2 separate regions of the Homo sapiens genome follow, and region 1 is linked to region 2. Evidence: promoter capture Hi-C in human tissues and cell types (Jung and others, 2019). All regions are on one chromosome and are shown on one strand. Each heading gives the region's core, a stretch centred on a gene start or on the middle of the fragment in contact. The rest is flanking DNA. Distances are from core to core; before and after follow the strand shown.

Region 1 (3,913 bases), core at 386-2,885, 1.4 Mb after region 2:
GATTCAGTAGTTTGCAAACACTGTTTTTATCCATTCTGTGAATGGACATTTTGGAGCTAATTGAGGCCAATGTCATAAAAGGGAATATCCCAGGATAAAAGCTAGAAGGAAGATATAAAGAAGCCAGTTTGTGACATGAGCATTCACATCACAGAGATAAATCTTTCTTTTCATTCAGCTGTCTAGAAACACTGTTTTGGCAGAATCCACAAAAGGATATTTGGGAGCGCATTCAGGTCTTTGGTGAAAAAGGAAATATCTTCAGATAGAAACTAGAAAGAATTCTGAGAAACTGCTTTGTGATGTGTGCATTCAGCTGACAGAGTTTAACCTTTCTGCAGATTCAGCAGTTTGGGTAAACTGTTATTGTAGAATCTGCAAAGAGATATGTGGTAGCTCATTGCAGCCAAAGGTGAAAAGGTGAGTATCCCAGGTTAAAAAAATAAAAGGAAGATATGTGAGAAACAGCTTTGCGACGTGTGCATTCAAATATCAGAGGTAAACTATTCTTTTCATTCAGCAGTTTGGAAAAACTGTTGTAGAATCTGTGAAGTTATATTTGGGAGCACGTTGAGGCCCATTCTGGAAAAGGAATAACTTCAGATAAAAACTAGAAAGAAGCTTTCTGAGAAACTGCTTTGTCATGTGTGCATTCATCCCACAGAGTGAAACCTTTCTCTGGATTCAACAGTTTGCAAAGACTGTTTTTGCACATTCTACGAATGGACATTTGGGAGCTCATTGAGGTCAGTGAAGAAAAAGTGAATATCCGAGGATAAAAACTAGAAGGAAGGTATCTGAAAAAGAATTTTCTGATGTGTGCATTCATGTCTCAGATTTAAACCATCCTTTTAATTCAGCAATTTGTAAACACTGTTGTCATAGAATCTGCAAAGTTATATTTGGGAGTTCATTGAGGCCTATGGTGAAAAAGGAAATATCTTCAAATAAACTATAAACATTTCTTTGGATTCAACATTTTGGAAACACTGTTGTTGTAGAATCTGGGAAGGATATTTGGAACCTCATTGAGGCCAAATTCGAAAAGTTACATATCCCAGGAAAAAAACTAGAAGGAGACTACCTGAGAATCCACTTTGTGATGTGTGCATTCAACTCTATGACTTAAACAATTCTTTTCATTCAGCAGTATGTATACACTGTTGTTGTAGAAAGTGCAAAGTTATATTTGCAAGTGCATTGAGTTCTGTGGTGAAAAAGGAAATATCTTCAGATAAAAATTAGAAATAAGATTTCTGAGAACTGCTTTGTTATATGTGCATTCATCTCAGAGAGTTCAAACTTTCTGTGGATTCAGCAGTTTGCAAACACTGTTTTTTGTCCATTCTGAAAATGGACATTTGGAAGCTCATTGAGGCCAATGGCAAAAAAGGAATATCCCAGGATAAAAAATAGAGAGAAGCTATTGAGAAACCACTTTGTGTTGTATGGATTCTTCTCACAGAGTTAAACCTTTCTTTTCATTGAGGACTTTGGAAACACTGTTTTTGTAGACTCTGCAAAGGGATATCTGGCAGTGCTTTGAAGCGTATGGTGAAAAAGGAAATATCTTCAGATAAAAACTAGAAAGAAGCTTTCTGAGAAATCACTTTGTGATGTGTGGATTCCCCTCACAGAGATAAATCTTTCTTTTCATTTCACTTTGGAAACACTGATTTGGCAGAATCTTCAAAAGGATATTTGGGAGAACATAGAGGCCTATGGTTAAAAAGGAAATATGTTCAGATAAAATCTAGAAAGAAGCTTTCTGAGAATCTGCTTTGTGATGTGTGCATTCATCTCACAGAGCTAAACATTTCTTTGGATTTATCAGTTTGGAAACACTCTTGTAGAATCTGTGAAGGGATATTTGAGAGCTCACTGAGACAAATGGTGAAAAAGCAAATATCCCAGGGTCAAAACTAAAAGGAAGCTATCTGAGAAACCACTTTTTGATGGGAACCTCGCAGAGTTAAAACTTTCTTTTCATTCAGCAGTGTGGAAACACTGTTTTGGCAGAGTCCATGAAGGGATGTTTGGGAATGCATTGAGGCCTAAGGTGAAAAAGGAAATATCTTCAGATAGAAACAAGAAAGAAGATTTGTGAGAAACTGTTTTGTGATGTGTGCATTCATCTTGGAGAGTTAAACCTTTCTTTTTCATTCAGCAGTTTGAAAACACTGTTTTTGTGGAATCTGCATGGTGATATCTTGGGGTACAATGAGGCTTATGGTGAAAAGGGAAATATCTTCAGATAAAAACTAGAAAGGAGCTTTCTGAGAAATGGCTTTGTGATGTGTGCATTCATCTCACAGAATTAAACATTTCTGTGGAATCAGCAATTTGCAAACACTGTTTTTGTCCATTCTGCAAGTGGAGATTTGGGAGCTCATTGAGGCCAATTTCAAAAAATCGAATATCCTAGGATCAAAACTAGAAGGAAGTGATCTGAGAAACTGCTATGTGATGTGTGCATTCATCTGGTAGATTTAAACCTTTCTTTTTTTCAGCAGTTTGGAAACATAGTTTTCGTAGAATCTCTGAAGGTATATTTGTGAACACATTGAGGCATATGGTGAAAAAAGAAATATCTTCTGATAAAAACTAGAAAGAAGCTTTGTGAGAAACTGTTTTGTGATGTTCCCTTCATTGCACAATAGTAAACATTTCTGTGGAATTAGCAGTTTGCAAACACTGTTTTTGTCCATTCTGTGAATGGACATTTGGAAACTCATTGAGGTCAAAGGCAAAAAAGTGAATACCCCAGGATTAAAACTAGAAGGAACCTAGCTGAGGAATTGCTTTGTGATGTGTGCATTCATCTCTCAGAGACAAACTTTCTTTTCATACAGCAGTCTGGAAACACCATTTTGGCAGAATCTGTGGAGGGATATTTAGGAGCACATTGAGCCTATGGTGAAGAAGGAAATATCTTCAGATAAATACTAGAAAGAAGCTTTCTGAGAAACAGGTTTATGATATGTGCATTCATCTAACAGAGTTAAACCTTTCTGTATGTTCAGCAGTTTGTAAACACTGTTTTAGTAGAATCTGTGAAGTGATGTCTTTCAGTGTATTGAGGCCTATGGTGTAAAATGAAATATCTTCAAAAAAAAAAGGAGAAAGAAGCTTTCTGAGAAACTGCTTTGTGATGTGTGCATTCATCTCACAGAATTAATCCTTTCTGTGGATGTAGCAGTTTGGAAACCCTGTTTTTGTAGAATCTATGAAGGTATATTATGGAGCTTAATGAGGTAAAAGGTTAGAAAGTGAATATCCCAGAAAAATAAACCTAGAAGGAAGCTATCCAAGAAACAGCTTTGTGATGTGTACGTTCATCTCACAGAGTTAAACTCTTTTTTTCACACTGCAGATTGTGAACACTGTTGTTGTAGAATCTGTGAAGAGATATATGAGAACTCACTGAGGCAAAAGGCAAAAAGAGAATATCCCAGAAAAAAACTAAAAGGAAGCTATCTGAGAAACTGCTTTGTGATGTGTGCTTTCATCTTGCAGAGTTACATCATTCTTTTCATTCAGCAGTTTGGAAACACTGTTTTTGTAGAATTTGCGAATTTATATTTTGGAGTGCATTGAGGCCTGTGGTGAAAAACGAAATGTCTTCGGATAAAAACTAGCAAGCTTCCTGGGAAATTTCCCTGTGTTTTATGCATTCATCTCACAGAGTTAAAACTTTCTGTGGATGCAGCAGTTTCCAAAAACTGTTTTTGTCCATTCTGCAAATAGGCAATTGGGAGATCCTTTTTCCAATGGCAAAAAAAGAAATACCCCAGGATAAAAACTAGAAGGAAGTTATCTGAGAAACTGCTTTGTGATGTGTGCATTCACCTCATAGAGTTAAAACTTTCTTTTCATTCAGCATTCTGGAAACACTGTTGTTGTAGTCTCTGTG
Region 2 (3,717 bases), core at 362-2,861:
TTCTGGTAAATTATTAACTTTGAGAAACAACAACAACAACAACAAAACAACTTAGGCTTAACCAACCACAAGCTGCCAATAAAAAGCTCTAATTACATAACCAGGACATTTCCACCGGAGGGCTGCAAATGCAATACGTAACTGTAACCAATCAAATATTGAATCTGGTTTGCTTCCTCATACCTCTTAAAAAAAAAAAACAACCTTTTGTTCCAAGACCCTCCTTTGAGCCCCCAAACAACAAATCATAGCTGGGTGTTCTCTGATTGATAAATTACTGTTTGTGCAAGTAAACTATTTGTATTAATCGCTTCTGGCATTACTATAAATACCTCAGACTGGGTAATTTATAAGAGGATTAATTGGCTCATGGTTCCACAGGCTGCATAGAAAGCATAACACCAGCGTCTGCTTCTGGGGAGGCCCCACCCAGAAAGCTTAAAATCATGGATGAAGGTGAAGCAAGAGCTTGAAAAAGAGGCAAGGTGGGGTGCTGTACACTTCTAAATGATGAACTTCAGGGAACTCACTCACTATTGAGAGGACAATACCAAGAGGAATGGTGCTAAACTATTCGTGAGAAATCCGGGCCCACAATCCTTCCACCAGGCCCCACCTCCAACATGGGGGATTACATTTAAATAGGAGATTTGGGCTGGAAAACACATCCAAATTATATCCTAAAGTTGCCTCAATTTAGGCTAGGGTGGTGGGTCATGCACGTAATCCCGGCACTTTAGGAGGCCCGAGGCGGGCGGATCACCTGAGACCTGAGCTCGGGGAGTTCGAGACCAGCCTGAGCAACATGGCAAAAGCCTGTCTCTACAAAAACAAACAAAACAAAATAGGCGTGGTGGCGCACCCCTCTAGTCCTAGCTACTTGGGGGGCTGGGGTGAGAGGATCATCTGAGCCCAGTAGGTGGAGGCTGCAGTGAACCGAAATGCACTTTAGCCTGGGCAACAGAGTGAGACACTGTCTCAAAAATAAATAAATTTAAAAAAGGGCCATGATTTTATTTTTAAAAGGAGAAAGGAGGGACTAGGGACCCCACGGCCCACTGCTTCTTCCACGGAGGAACTCCAGACCCTAAATGAGAATTCCCGTCTTATGACACTCCCAACACCCCCACACAATCTGGAGGAGGGAGACTCGAGGTTGCGGCACAGAGCTGCCCAGGAAGGGATCTGAGCTGGGGAGAAATTCGAGTTTAGGGACAAAACAAGACGTAGCGTTTTGGCTGCTGGCTCAGCCCCTAATCTGCGATGGAGGGAAATGAGGATTGAGCTGTGCCCGCGGGGACTCGGGGATGCAGACTCCAGAGCAGACCGCGAGAAGGCCCAGATACCACCGCAGCCGGTTCCGGCCGGATTCAAACAGCCTCTTCCCCATTCTCGGGACACCCACTCCACGCACTCACCATTTCCCAGCCTCCAGATGTTCCGCCGTCCTCCCTATGGATCTCCCAGTACCTGCAGGTCACAGGATAACAGAAGCTATAGTAGAGTCACCGAGGAACTCCAGGAACGGAGGAGATGGAACAGTGGAGACGCGAACTAGGATCAGAGCCCGGAAGCTAGGAGACAAAGGCCCCGCCATATTGAAGAGGCCGCCTCTTCCTCTGTAGCTGCGCACTTGATTGGACAGTTTCACGCTGGCGCCACTGATTGGCTAGGGCTCCAGGCCCCACCCGTTTCAATCCTAAGTGACAGAAGATGTAATCAGACACTGGGCTGAATGAGGCAAGGGTGACAGGTTTTTGCCTGCAGCGTTTTCAGGCGAGTCCTCCCTGTGCTGGGGGCCTGGCCCTGCCTGAGAGACATTTGTATTTAACCTTGCATATAAGATTATATCACTTTCTGATTATATTTTCGTGTGTGTGTATATATTACATTCTGAATTATAGTTATGTGTATGCTGCAGGCCCTGTCTCAGCATCCTGTCTTTCCCTTTAGCTGCAGGAGATCAAAGTCCTCCAGGAGATGCAGCTGCTTCAGCTGGCTGTAGACAATTATCACCTTCAGTCTGTGAAGCAATTTTGGGTCTGCTTCCAATTAATGGAGTGTCTCAGTGAGACTGAGAGGTGAGGGCCTAGCAGATTGGTTAGAGGTGCCACTCGCCCAGGCCTCCCAAAACACCCTGTCTCTTTCCCACCAAAGCTGAGCCTGCCTGAGGACCTAAACAAGCATGGAGAACCAAGATGGGACCCTAGTCAGGGATAGTGCTGGGCTGTGGGGTAAAGTCAGCTAGGTCAGGGCCTCCAGGTGTGGGGAGGAGCCGGCCTCTTCTGTAGAGCCCTGGGCAAGTCACTGCCCTCTTTGGGCCTCTGTTTTCTTATCTAAAAAATGTAGGGATGATGAGCCTCACAGGGTAATGAGGAGCTTCAAAGGAGAAAAATTTGAGAGTGCTTGTGCCTGGCTCTTCCTGAGAGAGATGATGATGAGAACAATGGTGACGGCTACATATAACTGAGTCCTCACGAGGCCCAGTGAGGTAGGTGTGGTTCCCATCACACTTTCAAGTTGAGAAACAGTCTCAGGGAGGCCTGGCTGCATGCCCAAGGTTCCACACACAGTGAGTGTTGCAGCAGGGAGTGAATCTAGAATCAGAGTTTACTGGAGGTGGCAGGAGCACTGGACCAGCTTGACTCACACCAGTTATCCAGGGTACCAGGTCAATGTAACTGGGCATAACTGGGTGAAGGGAGCATAATATCACTGACCTTGTCCTTGACCCTGGCAGAGGAAGACACCCAAGTTGGCCACCCTAGAGAAGAAACCACAGAAAGCCCAGATGAGGCTAAAGCAGCAAAAAGGCAGGTACCTGTGATGGGGAAGAGCTCCAGGGATTCAGAGGGAAGAGCTCCTCCCTCCCAGCTGGAGGCCTCCACATCAAAAGAGCAAGGGGCCTTTCTCCCTCAGCCCTTCCCTCCTGTGGCAACAGTCCCTGAAATGCCTCTATAAGAGAAATCAGAGTAAAGGCCTGGAAGAGCTGGGCTGAGTGGATTTGGGAAACGGTGGAGCTAGGGACCACATAACATTGTGACTTGTTAAAATCTCACCACAGAGTTAATAAGGGAGTGCTTCATGTTTTTGGAGGCCAGCTAGGAAGAGGGGAGAGAGTTGGAGAGAGGCAGCTGCGTGTCTTTGGCTTTTTCAAGTAAAAGATGTGGATAGGAGAGTCCAGGAGATGGGGGCTTATGAGATTTCAGGGACAGGCCTTGAATGGACACCCAAAAGTGGATACTCATCCCCATCACCACCTGATAGCACAGGGTGTTGCTGACTTTCACCTCCCCACTCTCTCCCAATGTTGCCCCAGCTGCTCACCTTCCTTTTCTTTCTGGGTGTTACATTTCCCTAGAAGTCAGCCAATGGTCATCAGAAAGGCCCCTTGGACCCTGACTAGGTCCCCTCCCCACACTCTTCATACTGCATTACTGCCAGGGCCACCAGGGGCAGGGGATGTGCACAAAGCAGGACTTGGGTCTGCAGCAGGTTCTGGGGTTCAAAGGGGACAATGGGAGCTGAGGCTCAGGGACCTCCCACCCCAACTCTCTTTGATGACAGACATAAAAACTGAGGGCTCCCATTTAAAAAAGTGCTCAGCCAGGCCAGGCACGGTGGCTCACACCTGTAATCCCAGTACTTTGGGAGGCTGAGGATGGTGGATCACCAGGTCAGGAGTTCAAGACCAGCCTGGCCAAGATGGCAAAACCC

The links. Contacts are between HindIII fragments. The study calls those that stand out against the background at their distance.
Region 1: a fragment that was not itself captured here is called in contact with the fragment with the promoter of ZNF736 in region 2 in 1 of the 25 tissues and cell types used here (mesendoderm cells).

What each region holds. Positions count from the first base shown.
Region 1 is chr7:62,936,781-62,940,693 of GRCh38, reverse strand. No RefSeq gene overlaps it. Among named protein-coding and RNA genes, the nearest start is that of LINC03075, 420 kb to the left of the region's middle. The HindIII fragment of the contact is 3,503 bases long and covers 1-3,386 here.
Region 2 is chr7:64,311,855-64,315,571 of GRCh38, reverse strand. It overlaps ZNF736 (zinc finger protein 736), which reads right to left and starts at 1,611. Exons shown (of 4, transcript NM_001170905.3): 1 at 1,419-1,611. The coding sequence starts at 1,421. RefSeq lists an enhancer at 1,379-1,558. The HindIII fragment of the contact is 17,485 bases long and covers 1-3,717 here.